Linked DNA regions of Homo sapiens: regions 1, 2, 3 and 4 are each linked to region 5. The links are contacts of gene promoters, found by promoter capture Hi-C in blood cells and fetal thymus (Javierre and others, 2016). All regions are on one chromosome and are shown on one strand. Each heading gives the region's core, a stretch centred on a gene start or on the middle of the fragment in contact. The rest is flanking DNA. Distances are from core to core; before and after follow the strand shown. Region 1 has its middle 73 kb from the start of SNORA107. Region 2 has its middle 170 kb from the start of SNORA107. Region 3 overlaps LOC105370290 (a long non-coding RNA gene). Region 4 has its middle 150 kb from the start of SNORA107. Region 5 holds the start of SLITRK6 (SLIT and NTRK like family member 6).

Region 1 (5,274 bases), core at 101-2,600, 940 kb after region 5:
TGGCACTAAATGGAGGTTTCACATCCAGTGATGATAAACTATGAAATACAAATCACAGGTGATTTTAATGAGAGTTTTGAAAAAAAATTGTTAAAATCAATGATAAAAAAACTCTAAACGTTTTAAATATAAAACTGAAGTCTTTCATGATACCATATCAAAATGTATACATCAAATGTAATAAGAACTGAAATATAAAAATTAGAATTGTAAATCTAATAGATTATCACAGAGACCCTGTAATGGCACATTGTTGAGGTGAGGTCCTCAAATGTATCTAAGTTTTAGTGGGACTAAATTATGCCTAACATTGCTCTGTATCCTCTGTAATGAAGCTTAAAAGCTTTGTAGAAGAAAAACCCATCATTCAGGCAACTTAACTGTGTATTATGAAACGTCCAATATTATTTAAGGGAACACAAAGAAATTTAGCATCTGACAATATCACATTGACACCTCCTAGCATTTCCTATAACATTTTCAGGCTCAAAAAATAAAAGGATGACATAAACTATAATCAGGAAAATAAAACAACAATAACTAGAAACAAAAAAAGTGACAGTAATAATGGAACTAGAAGAAAAAGATATAAAAACAGATATCATAAATATCTGTTTGATATGCTCAGAAAGTATGTTTAAAAATGATCATCAGCCAGGTGCGGTGGCTTACACCTGTAATCCTAGCACTTTGTGAAGCCAAGGCAGATGGATTACTTGAGCTCAGGAGTTGGAGACCAGCCTGCACAACATGGCCAAAACCCATCTCTACCACAAGTACAAAAATTAGCTAGGCATGGCGCCTCACACCTGTAGTCCCAGCTGCTTGGGAGGCTGAGGTGGCAGGATCACTTGAGTCTGGGAGACAGAGGTTGCACTGAGCAAAGATCTTGCCACTGCACTCCAACCTGGGCAACAGAGGAATACCCTGTCTCAAAACAAACACAGAAACAAAACATAACTTATGGAAAAGATGGCAAGTCAAAATTTTGGAGATGAAAAATAAAGTCTCTGGAATTAAAAAACAAACAAACAATAGATGAAAAGAATAACCAGAGAGTTTATAGAAGAAAAACAGTTAAAACTTGAAAATAAAACATATATGTAAGACTGAAAACAAAATGAAGAAGAACATCAATGACTTGTGAGACAGTATCAGCCAAAATTGACAAATGGGATCTAATTAAACTAAAGAGCTTCTGCACAGCAAAAGAAACTATCATCAGTGCGAACAGGCAACCTACAGAATGGGAGAAAATTTTGGCAATCTATCCGTCTGACAAAGGGCTAATATCCAGAATATACAAGGAACTTAAACAAATTTATAAGAAAAAAAAAACCCTATCAAAAAGTGGGCGAAGGATATGAACAGACACTTCTCAAAAGAAAACATTTATGCAGCCAACAAACATATGAAAAAAAGCTCATCGTCACTGGTCATTAGAGAAATATGAATTGAAACCACAATGAGATACCATCTCACACCAGTTAGAATGGCGATCATTAAAAAGTCAGGAAACAACAGATGCTGGAGAGGATGTGGAGAAATAGGAACGCTTTTACACTGTTGGTCGGAGTGTAAATTAGTTCAACCATTGTGGAAGACAGCGTGGCGATTCTTCAAGGATCTAGAACCAGAAATACCATTTGACCCAGCAATCCCATTACTGGGTATATATCCAGAGGATTATAAATCATTCTACTGTAAAGACTCATGCACACATATGTTTATTGGAGCACTATCTACAATAGCAAAGACTTGGAACCAATCCAAATGCCCATCAATGATAGACTGGATAAAGAAAATATGGCAAATATACACCATGGAATACTATGCAGCCATAAAAAATGAGTTCATGTCCTTTGCAGGGACATGGATGAATCTGGAAACCATCATTCTCAGCAAACTAACACAGGAACAGAAAACCAAATACCTTATGTTCTCACTCATAAGTGAGAGTTGAACAATGAGAACACATGGACACAGGGAGGGGAACATCACACATCGGGGCCTGTCTGGGGGTGGGGGGCTGGGGAGGGAGAGCATTAGGAGGAATACCTAATGTAGACGATGGGTTGATGGGTGCAGCAAACCACCATGGCACGTGTATACCTATGTAACAAACCTGCACGTTCTGCACATGTATCTCAGAACTTAAAGTATAATAAAAAAAAAAAAAGATCCCTGGCTTCTGCTAAATATACACCTTACTGAGATCAAGAACAGAAAATATTGACATAGATGTTAGTCTGTCCCTATGGGCACTAGCTCCTGCTTGTGGGTTTCAGCTTCTTGTTTTCCCCTAACTTACTTGAATTTATCTCTCTTTCCTTGATGCCTTATAGACTTCAAGCTTCAGGCTCTAACATCAGACACAAAGACAGTAACACTACACCAGAGACTAATTCCTTTCCACAGCTTCATGAAGTCCAAAGCTTTTAAAATTTATAAATATGTGTGTGTAAGGGCTATGTGTAATTACATACATGCTAATATCTAACTACATTGTACATCAGGAATAACGTGTGGTAATTGATTCCTTGATATTTTGTTGGTGTTTTGCTGTATACATGTGATAAAATAAATAATAAGTGCTTTGTTTATAGAAATTATATAAACAAACATTGATTTATTTTTCTTATAAACGAAAAATAGTTATATATCTCATAAAAGGAAAATAGAGGGTATGTAGAAAACATAACCATAAAAGTAAACAGCATTATTTAGTTACTGTTAAACATTGAGATATTTTTGTTTGGAAAATATTTTAAAAGCGATTTATTTTTAAGTAAAAATGGATTTATTTCAGCATTTAAAGAAAAATCTTTTAGAATCCACTTGTCCATTTGGACACCTATAGGTAACTATTATTCTGATCAATCCAATAATTATTACATAATAATTATAAATGTTTTAAATATTCAGAAATATTCTATCAATCTGTTTTAATATAGATATTAAGATTTAGTTTTGATACTATGTACATACATGTATGAGTACGAATATACCAAGTAAATATTAATTTTAAAAAAGTCATTGGGGTTATATATATATAAATATATGGATATTAAAATGATACTACATATCAATAATTAAAATAACATGTGTTCATAAAGTTATTTTAAAAATTTAATGTTGGAGAGGGAAGGGATTGTCAAGTGTCTAGCTCATGCTATGAACTCCAACAGAAACCAAGTGAATTACATTTCAATTCACCTTGAATGCCCATTCCTGTGATCTAATCTAAAATTGCAAAATATTTTATAACCTTTTGTAGGTGTTCTGTTCCAAATAGACAAGTAGGTAAGCATGTTTTATATTCACGTTGTATTAGGAAAATATATAGGCTTAAACTTTTCACCTTAGGTAAATTTCTTGAAAAATGAAGGCAAAACATTATTTAAATGAGAGAAATTTAAGTAGTTTTAAAAAACTAAGTGTAATGTAAAGCAAAATTATCATAGCGTACTGAATGCTTTCCTGGAGGCAATTCCAACATTTTATTACAGCCTTCATTAAACAGTATTGAGCATTTTAATAGAGCAGAAGGGAAAAGACTGCCTGGTTCGGAATTGCCAATTGCCATTCAACAACCTTTGTCTTCTCTTTGTTTTCGGCAATGTTGCCCTCATAGAACGTTAAAATATCACAATATTTCTTGTCGACTGGTAAGATGACAGCTCTGAGGCTAGTTGTACAGTCACTAAGAAACTAATTAGGATTATTACAGAGAAGTGTATATGATAATTAACAATTAAATTTAACTTTCTGAATAGAAGCTGGTTTTCCCTGGAGGGGACTCTGCATAGATTATGCTGAAGGAAAAACTTAATAAATTTTTTTGCATACATCAGTTACATAATTATGATTCTTTGCTATAGTCATTACTATTTAAATACTCCATGTACAACTGTAACTTTGAATATATCTTTTGATGTAACTATGCACGGAATAACAATGTTTGCAATTTATTAACATTCTATTGTGACTGATATTAGAATCTTCAACTAGATGCTGTTGCAGTATTTGGCCACATATTTTTAAATAAACAATTCAACAGACAATGAAAGAAATATAAATATCCAAAGTATTTATTCATAACCACATCCCAGAGATTTTTGAAACATTTGGGAGCAGATGTTCTGAAAAACATAACCTCTATTATGTTTAAAGTTAATGATATAAACCTCATCATTTTCAAAAAACATTCTAAGCCTTACTTAACCAATTTTCTTGGGAATTTAGCATTTCACATGTTATTTTTCTTTTCCATTTTTGTGTATAGACATATATGGTACTTTTAAGGAAACTATATTATTTTGGTCTCTAATTGGCAACAAAATCTAGGCGGAGTTAACAATAGTGTGGGGTGGAAATAGTATTTTGCAGCTAACAATTGTACTTGTTCAAAATTAGTAATTTTAACAATTAAAATAGTTTTATATTTTTTCCTTAAAAAATGTAACTCAGAGTCAGTGTCTCATGCCTGTAATCCCAGCGCTTTGGGAGGCCGAGGCGGGTGGATCACAAGGTCAGGATATCGAGACCATCCTGGCTAACACGGTGAAACCCCGTCTCTACTAAAAAATACAAAACATTAGCCAGGCATGGTGGCGGGCGCCGGTAGTCCCAGCTACTTGGGAGGCTGAGGCAGGAGAACCGCGTGAACCCGGGAGATGGAGCTTGCAGTGAGCAGAGATCGCACCACTGCACTCCAGCCTGGGCGACAGAGCGAGACTCTGTCTCGAAAAAAAAAAAAAATGTAACTCAGAGTACAGAACATATAAGGTGCTGAATATTAGACATACATTTTGTCAATTTGCTTATAGTATTTGAAAATATTAAATATAAGGAGATTCGTTTGTTCCTAGTCAAATATAAAATTTAAATTTGTATTTTAGAGTGAAATAAAAATACTGGCAATCAATCTAAGTTACATGTCATGTACATAAATAAACATTGCTATGCAGATTAGCTATTACAAAAAACAATGCAGCAATTTGATTATTAATCACATCCCATTTTAGGGGTTGTCATAAATCATATTTCAGGTATTCAACTTTCTAAGACCACAGCTACTGCTAAATCCAAAGCAGGATCTGGCCACTGTGACCTAAACCAACTTCAGTCTATTCTTGGTTTATTTAAATGGAAATGTTTTAACTTAAAATTTAACAATATGGGAATAATATGGGAATTTAACAATATGGGAATATTAACTTAAAATTATTAAAAAGATTGCATTCATGCTTATACAACTGTTATCTATATGTA
Region 2 (4,825 bases), core at 1,780-4,279, 850 kb after region 5:
TATGAATGACCAATGAGCAGGAAAAGTTTATAAACAAAATAGTTTTATGAATCTTTTGACAAATCTTTCTAATTTGTATAGGTATATTTTTCAAAGCCTATATCATATGTTAAAATTAGTTTTGATGTGGAATATTAGAGGTTAGAAAACCTCAAAAATAAATATATATTTAATGGCATGTGAAATATAGTATTCTAAAATGAATGCATATATTTGGAATATTGATTAAATATTTTGTTTGGAATATTGTCAATATCTGAGCTAGCTTTTTATGCAGGCAGGAAGATTCTTACATTGTCATTTTAGAAAAACAAATGATATGATACCTGTCCTAAAGTTTCTGCCATGAACCATTTAATTTTGTTTTTTTATATATGATATTCACCAACATGTTAAGAATTTTAAGAAATCATGACATTTAAAAGCAGCCATTAAGAATATACGCCCCTAAAGAAGTAGATCAATTTATTATGATAAACAATTACATATTTTATTATTATATTATTTATTATTTTACTACTATTATTATTATACCTCAGCTCCTCAGTTGCAACTATGCTATGAAGTAGGAGTTTATCATCATGCTTTAAGCTTCGACATAAAAATTAAAAGATGATTATTGGATTAATAGCTGACAAATTTACTTAAAAGGAGCTATTAAATGGTGCAGTGGACAGATTAAAAAGTGATCTGCATGTTTTTTGCTCTTTGTGGTTCATGCTTTTTTATCATTTCTTCTTACTGTGAGAAGAACCTGTGACTTGTTTCTAGCCTGGAGAATATGGCAAAGGTACACCATATGAGATTACATTTGGTAAGACTCCATTTGGTTGCTTACTCACCCTAATCTTTATCTCTGTGTGGTTGGTTTTAAAGAAGCAAACTGCCATAACTCTAAAACTGTAAGGACATGAATTCTACCAATGACCTAAGGGAGGTGGTAAACAGTTTGGTCCCCTGGTGGAGCCTTTGGATTATAAACCAGCCTTGGATGATACTTTGATTTTAGTCTTGTGAGGCCTTAGGCAAATGACTCATCTAATTCATCTTTGTATTTCTCACCTGCAGAAACTATGAGGTAATAGATGTGTAATATTAAAGCTGCTAACATTTTCTTAATTCATTATGCAGTACGTAAAACAAATACAAATGGTCAAAAATAAGATCAACAAATAGGTATTGGAATAGATCTGACATTATTGCTTCCTGGCAAGGAAGAGATATATTACTCAAGTATGTGTTTAGTAGGTTTCCTAAAAAGACATTGAAAACTGTAGAAAGAGTGAAAAAGGGAGAGTACATCAAGTAATGTGGGAGTCTGAAGTGAAGTGTCTGAATGGCTCATTAAGTGGATGGCAGTATCTTTATTATTATGATCAACCTTCACAGCTTTTAATTATGTTTTCCATCATTTATGTGAAAAGGCTTTGGTTCAAATGATTATGAGTTGAGATGCATTGAATACTAGAGTGACTAGGATCTTTCAGCAGATGTTCTCATGTGCTTGCGATAGAAAATAAGTCATATTTGTTTCTCTTTTTTTTTTCTTTTTGAGACAGGATCTCACCCTTTTGCTCAGGCTGGAAGTAGTGGTGTGGAGGAGGTGGAGGCTACCGTGAGTGATCCTCCTGCATTAGCTTCTCAAGTAGCTGGGACTATAGGTGTGTGTCACCACACCCAGCTAATTTGTTTGCATTTTTTTGTACACAAAAGGTCTCATCATATTGACCAGGCTGGTCTCAAGCTTCTGGCCTCAAGTGATCCTCCTGCCTCAGCCTCCCAAAGTGTGGGGATTACAGGTGTGCATTAGTCCATTTTCACAGTGCTAGAAAGAACTGCCTGATACTGAGTAATGTATAAAGAAAAAAAGGCTTTAATTGCCTCATAGTTCCTCATGGCTGGGGAGGGCTCAGGAAACTTAGAATCATGGCAGAAGGCGAAGGAGAATCAAGGCACATCTCATATGGCAGAAGGAGAGAAAGAGTGAAAGAGGAAGTATGAAACTTAAACCATCAGATCTCATGAGAACTCACTCGTTATCATGAGAACAGCATCGGGGAAACTGCCTCCATGATTCAATCACCTCCCACCATATCCCTCCTTTGACACATGGGGGTTACAAATTGAGATGAGATTTGGGTGGGGATGCAGAGCTAAACCGTACAAGGAATAAGACACCATGAAAGGCCATCATTTTCTAATTAACATTGGTGATGTGGGGAATTCCTTCAGTCTATATCAATCTTTCTCAATATGAGATCCCCAGAAAAACAGCAGCAGCAGCCTTGGGAAATGTTGGACAAGCAAATCATCAAGACGTACTTCATATCTACTGAATCAGAACATCTGAAAATTATGGCTTCTGGAAATTTGGTTTTACCAAAGTCTCCAAGTGCTTTTCATGACCCTAGATTTTGAGAATCAAGCTAATATGTTCATGTTTCAGTGGATGAAGAGAAACTAGGCCAAAGCTGGAAGAAACACTAAGCCTTACTTTCTGTTTCCCTAATCTAGAGACTTGAAGATAACCAGCTAATATTTATAAATAAGAATATCAGTGAAGCCAGAAAGGGTGTTGTTGTAGATGGAGAAGATTTGGGAGAAGAAAGCTGGAAGAAACAGGTTGAGGTGCAGGTGATCTAAAAACAGTAATGTAGAACAAACATATATGTGTAAATCTATGTATAGGGTTGGAAAAATCAAATGCTTGATATGGACACTGCAACAAAGTTACAGCAGTGAAGAGCTGAAATTCATTTTCAGTTCTACCTTACCTTACCTTACCCTATACTACCTCAGATAAAAAAAAATAGAAAGAACAAAACATTAGGCACAGGATAAAAATTATTATGAAATCACTGTATTTTATAAAAGAAAGACTTAATGGAAATATCTTAAAAGACAAATACTCTGATAGAAAAATTAATTTGAAAGTTTTCAAATAGTACCAGAAGAAAATATCCAAAAAAAAATTCAGGTAAATTAAATAAAACATGATCTATTGGAAATGATATAGAAAAAATATGACAGTAATGAAATACAAAAGATAATAGGACTAAGCAAAGAAATCATATACACATGTAGCTTATAAATATATCAATAATTACAAAACCCTGACATGGCATGAAACCGGTTAGTCTTGAGTCTGTCTCACAAAAACACAGGAAAAAATAAAATGTAATTTTTTTAGGTAGAACCTTAGACCAAGGGTTCAGTCTAGGTCCTGCTGCTCTCTGCAAAGAAAGCCAATTACTGAGACAACAAGTATTGGCAGGGAAGAAGGGTTTATTTGGGTGCTGCATGCAAGGAGATGGAAGATCCATCTCAAATCCAGCTCTCTGAACCACTAAAATTAGGGGTTTATATAGAAGGAAGAAATGTATCCATATGGGAAACAGGAAACAGGGAGGGGTAAGGAAGAGGAGTTGGTCAACAGAAAGCAGGTGGTTGGTTAGGCAATTGTGGTGGGTGAGGGGTCTGGAGTCTCATTGTCCAGATGGAGTGATCTGGTAACTATCTGGGAATCCTGAGAAAAAAGTCAGATAAGACATTTGTAACTTTCTCCCATTTTAAGACTGGGAGTGCTGATTTCCATGTTTATTCAGAAGAAACTATAAATGTTAACTTGATGGGGCAATTGGGCTGGTTTCAGTATGACTATAATAAATTTGGTTAAAAAGACAGCGGAGACACTTTAATATGTCTATCTAAAAAATAAAAAGCACTAAACACTTCCCCCTCAGCACTCCATTTCTCTACTCTCCTACACAGGGAAATTCATCTGTTATCTGTCAGTTTTGGGGAGACTTGAGCACCTCAGTTTCCCTTCCCAAAAAGGTTCTCATCTCAGCCTTTATTATAACTGCTATTATTAATTTCAAAATAGCCTTTCTGTTGGCAGATCCAGTGGCCACTTTTTAGTCACCAAGTCACCCTACTTTTGCTTTATTATCTACATGACACTTCTTTGAAATAACTTCTCTTGGCTTGCTGAAATAATACTCCATCATAACTGGCTGCTCTTCCACTCACCTCCTGTTTCTGGTTCTACTCCTCTGCTAAAATCTAACTATCGGCATATTCATAGATATTATCCTGGGGTCCATTACATACATATTTAGTTTCTTCTTTTTAACGTTTTTCCAAAGTTTATAGCCTTAAGTACCAACTATAACATATTCTGATGAATCTCAAATCTCTTTTTCTCACCATGACAACATCTCTTCAGAAATCCTGGCCAGTATATAGAACTGACCACTGGATCATTTCACATAGATGCTGTTGGAATTTCTTCTCCTCAAACTTTCAAGCTTTTAATAGAAAACTCTCTCTCTCCCTCCGTGTGTGTGTGTGTGTGTGTGTGTGTGTGTGTGTGTGTGTGTGTGTTTAGGCTGGGGTCTGGAGGAAGTCTACCTCTATTCTGTAAATGGTCTTTGTTTTTTTGTTTTGGTTTTTTGAGACAGGGTCTCACTCTGTCGTCCCGACTGGAGGCAGTGGCACGCTCTCAGCTCACCAAAACTGCCGCCTCCCAGGCTCAAGCGATTATGCTGCCTTAGCCTCCCAAGTAGCTGGTATTACAGGCATGCACCACTACCACCTGGCTAAATTTTTTTGTATTTTTAGTAGAGATGGGGTTTCACCATGTTGCAGAGGCTGGTCTTGAGCTCCTGATCTCAAGTGATCCACCCGCCTCAGCCTCCCAAATTGCTGGTATTACAGGTGTGAGCCACTGCACCCAGCCTGTCAATGCTTTTTGAACAAGAATGTTTGTTTTCAGTTTACTTTTAAACCTGATAGCTAATTTTATTTCAAATGAATTATTTAA
Region 3 (5,072 bases), core at 2,143-4,642, 920 kb after region 5:
ACCCTACTTACTGGGACTACAAGCACTCACCACCACGCCCGGCTAATTTTTTGTATTTTTAGTAGAGACAGCGTTTCACTGTGTTAGCCAGGATGGTCTCGATCTCCTGACCTCGTGATCCACCTGCCTCTGCCTCCCAAAATGCTGGGATTACAGGCATGAGCCACCGCGCCCGGCCGAGGCCTTCACTCTTGTCTCTGAAAGAAGCTCCCGTGTACATTATTCTCCAGAATCACTGTTTCCACCTGTTGGGGGAATCTTCATTTACATTTTTTTTTTTTTTGGCCTTAGAAGCTTGGGTGAAAAATTATGTACATTCCATTTTCTGCTAATAGATGTGGAGGGCATAGAGGGAGCTTTACATCTTTAAAGTTCTTAGCCTCTTTATTAACTCAGGCCTATATACTTTCCTTAATTTTAATTGGCTTTTATTTTTCTTTGATTGCAGAGAGCACTGTGAGAAAATAATCATGTTCATGGTAAGATTTATAGTCTGCTTCTTGTATTTATATACATCTTTGCTTTCTCATCTCTATGCCTTCTTTATGGATCTATCACAAATATATTGGGCTCACAATGTTAGCATGGCACAGATGATTAGCTTTATCTCCTAAGGTATTTTTGTCCAATGGAAAGAAAAGATTAGCTGAAAACCATATTATTCTTTAATCTGAGACTCTTATTTTGCACAGAGGTTTAAACAATAAGTGCGGTATTGTTTGAAATCACACTTGATATTGATGAAATATTAATGATATTTCATCATTAATATAAGAATGGTTAAATTGTTTTATAACTCAAGGGCTTTCTTCATTTTAATATTTTAAAAATTGGGTATGAGAAGCAAATGCTTCTTTAAATTGTCATGGTTTTGGACTCCCATTTTAAAACAAGCTTAAAATTAATACTTCATGTTTTCCTTTTTGCATTCAATAGTAAGCAGCACAGAATACTAATGTTTTGTTTTATAATTTCTTACACAAGAACTATAAAGTCGTTATGCCCGTGATCTTTCTTCCATGTAATCAGAAGAAACCATTTTACCAGTTTCTTTTATAGTCTATTGAGGAATCATTATTTTCCCAGACTCCTTTTCGGAGAGAAACCCTTGTCTTTCCTTACGTAAACTCCAAAAGTTTAAAAAGAAAAGCTCCTCTCAGATCTTCAACTACTTGTTTTTGTATTGTGTTATATGATTTTTTTGGACTTAAATAATTATTACAACAGGGGCTACTCTTGATTGTTTAAGATAAGAAAGGGTGTGGTTTAGACAGAGAAATGTCTTTATAACAAAGTGCAGTGTAAAAGCATCACGTGGCTTAATCTCATGACAGCCCTTTTTTTGCAGACCTGGGATTCAGTGGGAGCTTTGCTCAGAGCCCAGTGATCCAGTTAAAAGATAGAGACTAAATTTAAAACTACCTACTAAATAAAATTGGTCCTCTTATACAATCCTGTGGAAGATAGAATTTTATGTTTGATTTGGCATCTATTTTTAATCTCCCTCTCATACAACAGACTCTCTTTCTCTCTTCTCTATCTCTCTCTCCTCTATCTCTCTGTACTTTGAAGTGTGAATTTTGCTATCTGATTTTCACCTAAGAGTTGTTACTTAAGTAAGCAAATTTAGGGCTCTCCAGCTTACAGTTGCCTGGAGTAATGAAACAGATTATCAAGAAATTGAAAGTCTAAAATAGCAGAAAAAGAAAAGGGTCTTGTGGATCTATAAGATGTACTTCTACCTGCATATCTAATATATCTGTGTATTTATTTAATATATAATGTATGTCATGTATATGTTTCACTACAAAAAATATTAAAAAGAGCTCTAATTCATTGGCGTAAAGAAAAAAAAGTGCTTAAATCAAATGCTGTATCAGAAAAATAGAGGCTTTAAGCCCAAATCCATTTTAAGTTTACCTGACTTAAATTAATATTTAATAAGTAAGCTCGTTGGTAAAATAAAATTAGAAATGTCTTCAGAATTGTCAGCATACATTATTGTTTAGATTTATTGGTCAAATAGTTTTAAATTTATCTCTGCTAGATATTATAAGCTGTCAAAATTTGCCATGAGGGTTATAAAGCTATAAATGCAGCCCAAAAGAGAATTATCTTTATTTGTGTCATTTTTTATAAATAAGGCATTTAATATTGCTTGTTCAATACAAACAGCTAAATCTTGAGTTATTGACAAAAAGAATTACTTAACCTTATTATTCTTAAGTAAACACCTGAAATTCACAGGATATACAAATGGTTAACAGGAAAATAACTTTAAATAATAACTATCACATTTTTCATAAGTAATCTACGGTAAACTATTAAAAATAAATTAATCAGGTAAATGTAATGGAATAAATGCTTATAAATAAATTTGTCATATTATTTAGAATCTAAAATTATATTAAACTAAATAAAAGATGGTCATTAAATGTCTGGGTCATTTCCAATGTTTTAAAAATTATAGGAAATCATTTTTTAAATGTGTTCTTATTTAAAGGAAAATAATTTTTGCCTAATTCAAAAGTTATTTAAAGATTACTTATGAAACAAAGTAAAAGGAACCAATAAATAAGAGAGATGCAAAGAAAGTTATAAATATAAAGAGGCGTTTCAGCTAGTAAAGGTTAAAAGGAAAATAATTGTGTATGGGAAATAATCTTGTAAGATAATTTTTGTCCTAAAGTAAAATAATTGGTTATTTAGGAGAGAGGGATGCTTAGGATAAAACAGGAAGTCTGAGTATAATGCAAATGGTTTGTGTAAGTCATGATCAGATTTGTACAAAGAGAATTTATGAGAAAGAAAACTTTAAATGAACACATTGGCTATAATAAAAGGAAATTATTTATAAAAGTGTTTCTAAATATTGGGCTTTGATATTAAAAATACACTAACACACTAAAGAATTGGTAGGAACACCAAAATTGTCTTATTTATTTGCTCGTAATAAAATTACAAGAGATTTAATTTATTTTAACCCCAAATTTCGACTTTTATTGCATCTCATTGTTTTCAGTTTTCTCCCCCATTTGAGAAAACATGAAATAATAACTCCTTCAAATTTTTTCTCTCGGGTTCTAACTGCTATTGCGGCCTGATGCGAAAAATGTTTTATCTTAAAGCTCTAAAGGAAATATCTTCTTTCAACATAACATTCTGTGCCTTTGGCTTTAACGAAACAAAAAAGCTCCACTTATGCCCCAGGATACACTCTTCCTATGTTTGACTAATTCAAGTATCATTTTTATTAGTTTTGACTTCCAAGTTATCTAAATGAACTCCCCATAGGGAAAGACAAGCAATCACACTGCAGAAGGACTTTTCTTGTTTTTTCTTTTTTTGCCTTTTTGTAACTGGTGTAACAAATAAATTTTATGTTTTGTTGAAATAATTTCTATGTCATTTTTACTAAGTTTTGATTTCCCTAGGAAAACTTAAATTAAAACAAATTATAACTTAAAAACAAATAATTAAAAACTTTAAAAAATTAAGCCTTTTATATCCATGTAACTTTCTGTATTGCTTTTAGAGTCCTGTGCTATTACATTACAGTACTTTGACTCCTGGGTCTAAAAAGGACACCAAGTACTGCTAAATATTAAGCATTCACAGCAGTTAAAGCCTTCATCAGAACTGAGAGATGATGACAATCAAAATAAACTGCCTTTGTGAGACAGAGAGCCAGAAATTAAAACTATTGAACCCCTGTAGACCCAGATACTATTGCAGAAGAGGTAGTCACATGAGATTGTAATAGCCCATTTTGAGAGATAAAATTAACTCAGTTTCTCTATAAATTTAACATTAATATCAAATGCACACTGATGCAAGAGCAGCATATAGGCCCCTGAGTCAGAATAATAAGCCTTTCTTGGAGCATTAACCAAATCTTTAAAAAAAGTATAAAATTTTATAAAAAGATTTATGGAAATTATATCTTAGGGTCAAGGTAATTAAAATTAAATAGATTTGTTTATAACATTTGAGAGACAGATTCAACTAGTCTCATGGTGTTTTTATTAGAGCTTATTGCTTGGGAAATTAATTCTCCTGTCTCAAATAATAAAGGTTTTTGCTTTTTAGGGGGAAATCTTTGAGTTTTTACTTTGGCTAAATGAATGACTTATTTTACAGTGACCTGTGATCCTATTCTGTGATGTCAAGTGTTTTAAACTTTTTATGTTTGATGAACTTTCTAAAATCACGTGCTAAATTCAGTCCTATTGACCTCATTAATTTTTTGTTAGTAGGTCCCTTGAAGTCCAAAAATAAATGTTTGGCTTATTTGATGTAATAAAATCATATAGGAAGCATTGTCAAATATAAAATGATGTTTAACCATCTTTGGATTATATTTATATAAATGTGTTAGTAGTATTTATTGCAAGATTATATGAGATTCCTGTGACTCTAATATGTCTTAGTATATGTTATCAATAGTAATTATAATTATTATGTAAAATAGTTGAATGACACAGAACTAAATTTCCTTGTCAATTGTATCTTTAACTATAGCTGTTCTAAGACATTTTAATTTAATCCTTTAACAAGGCAGTTTATAACCAGCTATAGAAGTCTAAGGATCACTGTTAAATATAGGTTTCTCATAATTTTAGAGATTGTAACATTGGAATAGACAGAAAATTTTCCAGGGCTCTCATGGAGAGCTGACGTATTCATGAGGATTTTTGATCCAATATCGAGCAGAACAGGAATCAATTGCAGAGACTGAACTAACAAAAGAGTAAAATAATGTTGGGGAAACCAGCCCCACACCACAGTGGGTACCTTGAGTCTGGCAGAGACAAAGGAGTTAGAAAAAGACAGAATAAGCATTTAAAAGGTGGGTCCAGGGAACTGGAGCATTAGAGGCTTGCTCATGGCCCAGAGCTCTCAGGAATCCCCCTAATTTATTGGTTTACAAGCTCTTTGTTCTTAGGGCAGATGGGAGGGGGAGGAAGGGATGAGGAAAAGGATTAATCAGTGAAGGAGAACTCTGAGTCATTCAATAAGATGTATAGCAGTGGCAGTTTCTGTGAATTTCCTTGAGCAAAGGCGTGTGTCTA
Region 4 (5,285 bases), core at 104-2,603, 870 kb after region 5:
GAACCACCTCACATCACACAATTTCTTCCTTGTCATCACATATGAAGAGAAATAGCCCATCTTTGTTTCTTCCAGGTGGAACAAACTCTGTGGCTCCTTATCTGAAACCAAATTGTTGCTTGGTTTCATCTATTCCTTATTCTGTTTCCTGAGGCTCTTTGTGGCCACCCATGACAACATCCCCTTAGTAGGTTCCTTGTATGTCAATCCCTCTGTCAGTCTTCATTTGTAAGGAATTTGATCTCATACCCAAGTCAATAGAAAAACGAGGGCTAGAGAAACTACAGTAGAAAGTATCAGCATTTACAACATTTAAACACCTGGGCCTGTATAGCATTCCCTGGGTAGTAAATGTAAAGATAGAAAAACAGACAGTAAAACACAGTCCTGGGAAAGTGCAGCCTGTACAGGTACATAAGAGGAGAGCCAACAAAAGAGACTTAGAATGACTGGTGAGCTAGGAGAGTAATCAAGTGAAAAGATGTGATCAAGTGTGTCAAATGCTGCGGAGTGATTAAATAAAATGAGGACTGACACTTGATCACTGGAAAAAATACTTCAGAACAAAGTAAGACTATAACCTTCTTACACAATGATGGCAAAAGCATCACTCTGAATATTTCATTTTATCAAATGTAGGGAATGATTTAGACTCTTCTGTAGGACACAAAAGCCTGTGGCTCTAAGGAACTGGAGCAGAAAACACTCTGTAAAGAGAGGCTAAGACCAAGAAGTAAATGGATGGGATTTTGAAGAAAGGCTGTGAAACCCTAGACAAAATATTATAATTACCATTTATAGTGGAAATGATGAAGAACATAAATTTTATTCATATATTGTTAGTAATAAGAATCAATGGCATGCAGACGTAAACTCTAGTACAATGCAAAGGAAGAGAATAAAGACATTAGTAGAAAGTGCAAGAAGAGATAAAAAGATAGGTGATGGAAGAAAACCTAATTGTCAATACATATAAAATAAAATTTATGTGATGGTAACCATAAAATTATATCATCAAATGATATCTCATTTTCAGCCATCAAATGTTTGCAAGAATATAAGAGGCACCTGGAAGGGTTATGAAAAGGGTTTTGACAATCTATGTAATCTCATGCATTGGGACCCAGTATTTCTACTCATAGAGATTAATTCCAAGAACATTTAATATACTTTCTATTTTTCATATTTAAGAATATTTTAATTATTACTTACTGTAGTAATACTAAAAGTAATATAAACATTTTACTTTTAAAACTTCTTTTTGATTTTTTTTGTAAAGATAGGGTCTTGCTATGTTGTCCAGACTGGTCTCCAACTCTTGTTCTCAAGTGATCCTCCCGCCACAGCCTTCCAAAATGCTGGGATTACAGATATGAGCTACCACACCAAGGCAAAAAGTAAGGTAGGCATTGTGGCTTACACCTGTAATCTCAACACTTTGGGAGGCTGAGGCGGGTGGGTCACTTGAACCCAGGAGTTTGCGACCAGCCTGGGCAACATGGTGAGACCCCATCTCCACAAAAAAACTACAAAAAATGAGCCAGGTGAGGTAGTGCATGATGTAGTCCCAGCTACCCAGGAGGCTGAGGCAGGAGGATTGCTTGAGCCCAGGAAGTTGGGGATGCAGTGAGCCATAATCCAGCCACTGCACTCCATCCTGGGTGACAGAGCGGGACCCTACCCCACCCTCCCAAAAACAGTAATGTCAACATTTTAAAAATGAGTTACTAAATAAATTTTAGTATAATCTTAGAGTAAATACAGACAAACATTAAAGTTTTTTAATTTTAACATCTTCAGATTAGTCAACATAAGACTATTACTATTTAATATAGGCATATTATGGTATCTGTATACTGGCTGGCCTACAGCTGACATCCATATATGCCCGTTATGTGGAATTAGGCAATGTTCAGCCTCCACTTAATCCACATAGGTATAAAGTTTCAACTAATGTAAGAAGAACAGAGTCTCCTAAGCAGAACGTGAGTTATAATGTCTCATTTCTGCTGAAATATAGACAAGTCTTGAAGATTTTTGTGGGGCACATGTAAAATAATTTATAGCCAGAGTGAAATGTAGCACCACCGGGAGTAAATCCACCATTTGTTAGGTGCCAAGAATTATGAAGAGTTTAACTTTGGAGGGGACAATGATTATAATTGAGGAAAAGAATCAAAGAAACAAAACCAGATCTTGTTAGCAAAGGTAAAATGAATAATGGGAATTTAGAGCAATGAGAACAAGGATGTAAAAGATTTTGAGCAGTCTGGGCTGAGTGAACTGTTTGTTATTCCCGAGGGAGTTTTGAATACATTCAAATTTTGCTCCTGAAGATTCTGAAAGGTATTAAAGAAATAAGAGAACTTCAATATGAGGCTGAGAGTATGTAGATTTAAACCAGGGTATTTGAAATTCTATGCTTTCTATGATCTCACTCATATTCTTGGACTTTAGTGAGATGTGTATGATGTTTTGAATATTACATATTATTCCTGGAATCCTGCACTGAGAACAGTCCATTTATAATAAGTACATAACACAATCATTTTCATCACTCTTCATTTTCACTGAGGACAGAAAGATATATGATTATTTATAGTGAGTACAAAGAGGGTTTTTGAAGTACCAAAATGAACAGATTCTAAAATGTATTTTTATCAAATCCCATAAGTAGCAAATCAGACAAGTAGCAACTGCTGTTAATAATAATAAAATTTTTCTTAAATAAAAAAGTATTCTGTTTGCATTGGCTATCAGTTACTAAGTGAAAGTAGTAAATAATACTTTAAATTATTTTCTAAAATATAAATGCTGTAAAATGATAAAGCTGTATATTATCTTTTTGATATTTTTCTAGATAGTTAACATCAATGTTACCATACTGTGAATAGAATTAATTACAAACACTTGAAATTTATTTCTAATTATAGTTTGTAAACTCCATTACTGTTTTTGTTTTGTCATATTTAGTATTCTTTTCACAGAAATAATTACTAGTTTAATATAATACTAGCTTATAATTTCTACAAGTAATGATGTATTGACAAGTGAAATTAAGAAAAAAACTATTTGTGCTACTCATTTTTTAACAATTTTTTAGGAAGTTAGGTAAAAAATGTAAACATTTGATTTTGAAATTATGCATTATTTTTGCTAAGCATTGTTCACTTGAGATCAAAGAAACACCCTATCATTAGAAGGAAAATAAGAATTGCATTATAGGCAATTGTATTAAACTTATTATTAGAAGTTTTACTTGGGTCAATTAGGTTTTACACACACACACACACACACACACACACACACACACACACACGTTACCTAATTGATCACAGATTGAACATAGGTATGTATATATATATGTATGTCACCTAATAGATCACAGATTGAAAAGGAACCAGTAATATTATTTACAGATGATGTGATCATGTAGACAGAAAATTTTAGGAAGCTTCTAAAACTATTTGAACTAAGATACTTGTTCATCAAACTTACAGACATGAAATCAATATTAAATCATTTTTTCTATGTACTAGCAATGAAAATAAGTAAAAAATTAAAACAATATTACAATAATAAACTTGTTAGAAAAAAACTGAAGAAAGGAAGTATGAGATATGCATACCAAAAATGATAAAATATTGTTGAAAGAAAACATAAGATATTTAAATAAATGGAAAGATATCCTAATTTCACGAAGCAGACTTTACATTGACAATGTTCCTCAAATTAATGTAAAGTCTCAGTACAACTCTTATTCAAAACTCAGTCATTATTAATGATTGCAGAAATTGAGAATCTTATTCTAAAATTAAAATGGAAATGTAAAGCATCCAGATTTGTCAAAACAATTTTTTTTTTTTACATCAAGTTCTGGGATACATGTGCAGAACGTGCAGGTTTATTACACAGGTATATGTGTGCCATGGTGGTTTGCTGCACCTATTGACCTGTCCTCTAAGTTTCCTCCCCTCAGCCCCAGCCCCAACAGGCCCTGGTGTGTGTGTATTGTTCTGTTCTTTGTATCCATATGCTCTTAATGTTAACTACCACTTATGAGTGAGAACATGTAGTGTTGGTTTTTCTGTTCCTATGTTAGTTTGCTAAGGATGATGGCTTCCAGCTTTATCCATGTCCCTGCAAAGGACAGGATCTCATTCTTTTTTATGGCTGCATAGTATTCCATGGTTTATATGTACCAAATTTTCATTATCCAGTCTATCATTGATGGGCATTTGGGTTGGTTTTATGACTTTGCTATTGTAAATAGTGCTGCAATAAACATATGTGTGCATGTGTCTTTATACTGGAATGATTTATATTCCTTTGGTTATATATCCAGTAAAGAGATTGTTGGGTCAAATGATATATCTAGCTCTAGATCTTTGAGGAATCGCCATACTGTCTTCCACAATGGTTGAGCTAATTTACATTCCCACCAACAGTGTAAAAGCATTCACTCCAGCCTGGGCAACAAGAGCAAAACTCCATTTCAAAAAAAAATAAATATAAAAAGCGTTCCAATTTCTTTACAGCTTCACCAGCATCTATTGCTTCTTGACTTTTTACTAATCAGCATTCTGACTGGTATGAGATGGTATCTCATTGTGGTTTTAATTTGCGTTTCTCTGACGATCAGTGATGTCGAGCTTTTTTCCATATGTTCGTTCGCTGAGTAATGTCTTCTTTTGAGAAGTGTCTGTTCATATCCTTTGCCCACTTTTTGATGGGGTTGTTTTTCTCTTGTAAACTTGCTTAAGTTCCTTGTAAATTCTGGATATTAGACCTTGGTCAGATGGGTAGATTGCAAAAATTTTCTCCCTTTCTCTAGGTTGCCTGTTCACTCTAATAATAAGTTTCTTTTGCTGTGCAGAAGCTCTTTAGTTTAATTAAATCCCATTTGTCAATTTTGTCTTTCGTTGCAATTGCTTTTGGTGTTTTCATCATTAAGTCTTTGCCCATGCCTATGTTCTGAGTGGTATTGCCTAGGTTTTCTTCAAGGATTTTTATGGTTTTGGCTTTTACATTTAAGTCTTTAATCCATCTTGAGTTAAGGTTGGATAAGGTGTAAGGAAGGGGTCCAGTTTCAGTTTTCTGCATATGGCGAGCCAGTTTTCCCAGCACCATTTATTGAATAACAGACCCTTTTCCCACTGCTTGTTTTTGTCAGGTTTGTCAAAGATTAGATGGTTGTAGATGTGTGGTGTTATTTCTGAGGTCTCTGTTCTGTTCTGTTCTGAAGCTTATTTCTGTCATTTCATCCATCTAACCCTCCATCCAGT
Region 5 (5,217 bases), core at 404-2,903:
AATTGAAGGACATGAGAGAAACATGTGTCAATCTACAAAGAAATTACTTTCATTTGTCCATATGTAGGCTTGAAAAATTTTGCTCCACATACTATGCTACTAGAATATTTCTCCTATGCACTTGACTGCAAAACCTAAAGGAATGCATGTGAAAAATTAGGACTACAGGGTTGGGAGGGAAATTATTCTTGCCCCTTCTTTTTTTATTGATTAAAATTCTAATTTCTAACTATCTATCTAAATAATTACCTTGATTTAATTAATTTGGCTAGCAGCTAGCAGGAAATTGTGCCAAACACTAATTATTTATATTTAACTTCACTTATACTCTTCATTCTCTCATTTTTTTATTTTTATTGTATTTTCGAACCCCCTCCTCTGTATCATCATCTCTTTTCCATGTTAAAGCACAAAATGTCATTAAAATAAACGAGAAACTTAATTACTGGGAAATATAAAGTAAAGTGAGAATACTGAAAATTCCCACAGAGCCCTTATGTGTTTAGAGCCAATATACCACCCTGAGACGATAAAACTATATCAATCTGAGTGTATGTCATTAAATAATAATGTGATATTCTTCTATTTTGATGATTTAAACTATATCAACTCTCCTTTTTAAAAACAGCACTTTCTGAAATGACACCTACTATTACATAGAAGGCCTCTAGAATCTGTATTTATTCTAAACAGAATAAACAAATAAAAGACAGCATCTAGTATATGCACTTTGGATGTGAAAAAGTTCAGGAAGGTAGGTAAGAAGAATAACTTTTTAAACCACAGGCTTTTTGAGAAATAAGGAATCTGACAAGAGTAATAATGGTGATGATTCAGAAACTTTTAAGAGCTGAAGAAACACGCAACTTTTAAGATATAACCTATTAAGAATAAATTCTCTCTGAGCTAGCACTATACAAATCAGGTTATTGTAATATCTACATATTTCACTTGTTTCATTTTATCTGTAAAGATATAATGTTATATTTTTGAAAGTGATAAACAGAACTTTATCAATGATAATTATTTTGTGTTTAAAGATTTTTAAATATATTTTAAAATAATTATGCTTTTCTTCTAAATAAATATATTAAAATAACTGAAAGATCTTCATTTCTAAGTTTAATTATTGAATATTAGCTCTAGGGAAAGAAATAATGAAGTAAAAACTTAGAGTCCCTAACATAAGGCTTTAAAAAAGTTAAATGGTGAATACAAAAATACAAATATTGCAGGGAAGCAGTTCGTGTTAACATTTTACAATCTAGTTAGTGCACAATTTCAACTATAAATACCAGATTTAAAAAAAAAAAGAAAAAAAAGAGGCAACTACTCTATAGGCAGCATTCTTGTGTTTCCTGCACACATGTGTGCAAACACTACAGAACAGTGTTAGTTGAGAATTTAACATAACGTATTATTTAGCTTGCTATAACACAATGTACTATTAAGCATTTAAAATGACGTGTTATTATTTCCATCAAAATTCACTTGCACTATATTTGGTATTGAAAGGAGTGGAAAGACCATTTGCAGAAAGAGGAGGAGTTGAGCAGTCCCAAGGTGGAGCTGTCTCTTGTGTTATATGACACTGGCAGATTAAAACGCTCTGATGGGGAAGGGCTTAAAGGCTGAGTCAAAAGCCAAGAAGTCTCTTTATTTACGCCTACCTCCCAGCCCTTGGCAATCTGACTAATAACAAACTGAGCTAACAAGAAATACTAGAAAAGGAGGAAGGAGAACATTGCTGTAGCTTGGATCTACAACCTAAGAAAGCAAGAGTGATCAATCTCAGCTCTGTTAAACATCTTGTTTACTTACTGCATTCAGCAGCTTGCAAATGGTTAACTATATGCAAAAAAGTCAGCATAGCTGTGAAGTATGCCGTGAATTTTAATTGAGGGAAAAAGGGACAATTGCTTCAGGATGCTCTAGTATGCACTCTGCTTGAAATATTTTCAATGAAATGCTCAGTATTCTATCTTTGACCAGAGGTTTTAACTTTATGAAGCTATGGGACTTGACAAAAAGTGATATTTGAGAAGAAAGTACGCAGTGGTTGGTGTTTTCTTTTTTTTAATAAAGGAATTGAATTACTTTGAACACCTCTTCCAGCTGTGCATTACAGATAACGTCAGGAAGAGTCTCTGCTTTACAGGTAAGATGAATGTTTCCAGGCTTTTCTTATACTTATTTTTGCATTATAGTAAAGTGATTGAATTTGTATGTTCGCTTCCTTTAAATAAACAACTTTGCATTAAAGGATACTCAATTTCATTCTTGCTTACTGGCACAACTAACACTGGAGCAGATGCCTGTATTCTCTGAGAAGCAGACATTTAGTCTAACAGCTGGCTACAGAGAAGAACAAATATAATATTCCACTATTTCTTTTGCAACATGCAGTTTGTTGTTAGAAACTAAATATGTGTGCTTTCTGAAGGAAGGATCACTTCCAAATGCGAATGTTGAATTGCAAATATAAGCAGAATATTGAATAATTCTTTGCATTTTGTATGCTACTTATTTTCTGATTTGAAAATACGTATTCTCAGAAAACATGTCAATGAGTATCTTTTGACCTCTTTACCACTGTATCAGATATTGTCAGTAGAGAACCACTTTTCACATCTGTGTGTGTTTCTGAAAAGATTAGAAACTGTTTCCTAGCACGTTTTGAAGAGCATAAAATTCATACAGGATTTACAAAATAACAAGAGTTTATCACTGAAAAATTATTTACTATTTTCTCTGATGCTATACCTGGTGAAATAAATCTTATTCTTTCTTGGTAATTTATGAATAAGTACTTTTAGTGATTGTGGAAGCTAATCCACAAGTTGAAGACTCCAACTACAAGCTGCTTGTTTATAAACTCAGCACACAAAGCTGTTTAAAATCAAATTATTTACCTACAGAAAAATAAAATCTTCTAACTTTCCCTTTACACAGAGGCAGTATGTTGTTTTGTTTCTTCAGTTGCCTTTTGCCTTTCAGGAACTTTGTACTATATGTGTTTTCAATAAAACACTATGTTTTCAGGGAATGCAAGTTTACTTTCAGGATTGTTGATTGGGTTCTGGTATGTTTTACCTGATTGTGAATTTTAATTTGATTCAGTTACTGTTCATATTTCAAACAACAAAAATGAAAACTGATTACTATTTTGAAAAGTTGAATAGTCATAAGATGTGTTTATATTTCAATTTAGTTTATATAAGTTTAAAGTATAATATTTAAAGGAAGGAAATAAAATTAGATCTCATTAGAGCTATAAATGTTTACCTTGCATAACTGTCATTTAAAGGGCAAAACCTTTTTAAGAATTGCTGTTTCAGATGCATTTGTTATGTGTTTCAGGATTAGAATACGTGATGTTATTCTGAACCATCCTTTTTTTCTTTTACTGAATTTGAAATATCATCAAAAAGTTTAATATGGTACAGTTTGTTTCAGATTTCATTGTTTGCGACTTTAAGCCTTTTAATAAAGGCTTAAAGCTGCTTAATTATGTGATGACATTCCGTGCCCTAAAGACTGTTTCAAGACCTCATTAGGAAGTCATTTGCTAGAAGTTTATATGAAGCATTGTTTATTCTTTTACAACAGCCTGAAATGTGTGTTAAAGATTAATCTTGCTTCTTTAGTTTTTATCATTTCCACCTCATCTATAACGTAATTAAGAAGCAGTAAGCAATATACTGCTTCTAGAAATTCAATATTAAATATAATGATTTAAGTGAAATTTGAATGGTCACACTTAAGTGTATGTATCTGATACTATTACGCTTATACAAACTACCCTTGATTGAATAGTTAAAAGAGTTCTTATAGTACTGTACTTTATAACATGATCAAAGACGCATTTTCCTCAAGGTTTTCAAAATAAACAATAAAATTAGTATATATATATATATATAGCCAAAACCGAAGCAGGTTAAAACACAGACACAGTTATTAGATGTTATTGTGTGACACCCAGTTCAACAATATAAAGACAATGCATGCTACATGCGTACATGCATACACACATACACATATGCACACATACATTCTTTTATCATTTTTTACATTCCCTACAGTTCTCTATGCTTACGGCTAATAACTATGTAATTGTCTTTTACTATAATCCTCCAGCCTTAAATGTATGACCATAAGGTTAAAAAATATTTTCAAATATATAACTTTGCATCACAGTGAAGTATCAGTGCTCTAAGGCAGCATCTCTCTCATCTGTTAAAATGCAGGTTATTCATCAGATGTGAGCACAAATTTTATGATATAATATTTTAAATCCCCCTTGACCTAAATTTTATATTTTGAACACAATGCAAGTTAAAAGTCAGCCAGACTTGCCTGTCTGAGTATTAGGAAAAAAAAAAAAGAAACAAATGATGTAAATGCAGCAAGGTACCCATATTTTCATGGTAATCCGTCATTTGCTTTTTGGAGAAAAACCTATTATTTTGAAAATATCAGCTTCATCTCCTCCCCAGTTCTGCCCACTAAAGTCCCTTGCTATTGCGTTTTATTTTACAGAATCGGATTTCATCACATGACAACATGAAGCTGTGGATTCATCTCTTTTATTCATCTCTCCTTGCCTGTATATCTTTACACTCCCAAACTCCAGTGCTCTCATCCAGAGGCTCTTGTGATTCTCTTTGCAATTGTGAGGAAAAAGATGGCACAATGCTAATAAATTGTGAAGCAAAAGGTATCAAGATGGTATCTGAAATAAGTGTGCCACCATCACGACCTTTCCAACTAAGCTTATTAAATAACGGCTTGACGATGCTTCACACAAATGACTTTTCTGGGCTTACCAATGCTATTTCAATACACCTTGGATTTAACAATATTGCAGATATTGAGATAGGTGCATTTAATGGCCTTGGCCTCCTGAAACAACTTCATATCAATCACAATTCTTTAGAAATTCTTAAAGAGGATACTTTCCATGGACTGGAAAACCTGGAATTCCTGCAAGCAGATAACAATTTTATCACAGTGATTGAACCAAGTGCCTTTAGCAAGCTCAACAGACTCAAAGTGTTAATTTTAAATGACAATGCTATTGAGAGTCTTCCTCCAAACATCTTCCGATTTGTTCCTTTAACCCATCTAGATCTTCGTGGAAATCAATTACAAACATTGCCTTATGTTGGTTTTCTCGAACACATTGGCCGAATATTGGATCTTCAGTTGGAGGACAAC

The links. Contacts are between HindIII fragments. The CHiCAGO score rates a contact against its expected background, and 5 or more counts as called.
Region 1: a fragment that was not itself captured here is called in contact with the fragment with the promoter of SLITRK6 in region 5 in 3 of 17 cell types (M2 macrophages, M0 macrophages and erythroblasts); the score reaches 9.1 in M2 macrophages.
Region 2: a contact is called between a fragment that was not itself captured here and the fragment with the promoter of SLITRK6 in region 5, in 3 of 17 cell types (M1 macrophages, M2 macrophages and M0 macrophages). The highest score is 8.1, in M1 macrophages.
Region 3: a fragment that was not itself captured here is called in contact with the fragment with the promoter of SLITRK6 in region 5 in 3 of 17 cell types (M0 macrophages, M1 macrophages and M2 macrophages); the score reaches 5.9 in M0 macrophages.
Region 4: a contact is called between a fragment that was not itself captured here and the fragment with the promoter of SLITRK6 in region 5, in 8 of 17 cell types (M2 macrophages, M0 macrophages, megakaryocytes and 5 more). The highest score is 23.4, in M2 macrophages.

The regions. Positions count from the first base shown.
Region 1 is chr13:84,854,041-84,859,314 of GRCh38, reverse strand. No RefSeq gene overlaps it. Among named protein-coding and RNA genes, the nearest start is that of SNORA107, 73 kb to the right of the region's middle. The HindIII fragment of the contact is 2,010 bases long and covers 346-2,355 here.
Region 2 is chr13:84,947,491-84,952,315 of GRCh38, reverse strand. No RefSeq gene overlaps it. Among named protein-coding and RNA genes, the nearest start is that of SNORA107, 170 kb to the right of the region's middle. The HindIII fragment of the contact is 2,566 bases long and covers 1,747-4,312 here.
Region 3 is chr13:84,877,008-84,882,079 of GRCh38, reverse strand. LOC105370290 (a long non-coding RNA gene) reads left to right here. Exons shown (of 8, transcript XR_007063929.1): 5 at 449-479. Among named protein-coding and RNA genes, the nearest start is that of SNORA107, 96 kb to the right of the region's middle. The HindIII fragment of the contact is 4,992 bases long and covers 897-5,072 here.
Region 4 is chr13:84,928,625-84,933,909 of GRCh38, reverse strand. No RefSeq gene overlaps it. Among named protein-coding and RNA genes, the nearest start is that of SNORA107, 150 kb to the right of the region's middle. The HindIII fragment of the contact is 4,207 bases long and covers 1-3,456 here.
Region 5 is chr13:85,795,855-85,801,071 of GRCh38, reverse strand. SLITRK6 (SLIT and NTRK like family member 6) reads left to right here and starts at 1,653. Exons shown (of 2, transcript NM_032229.3): 1 at 1,653-2,158; 2 at 4,540-5,217. The coding sequence starts at 4,564. The HindIII fragment of the contact is 4,986 bases long and covers 1-4,774 here.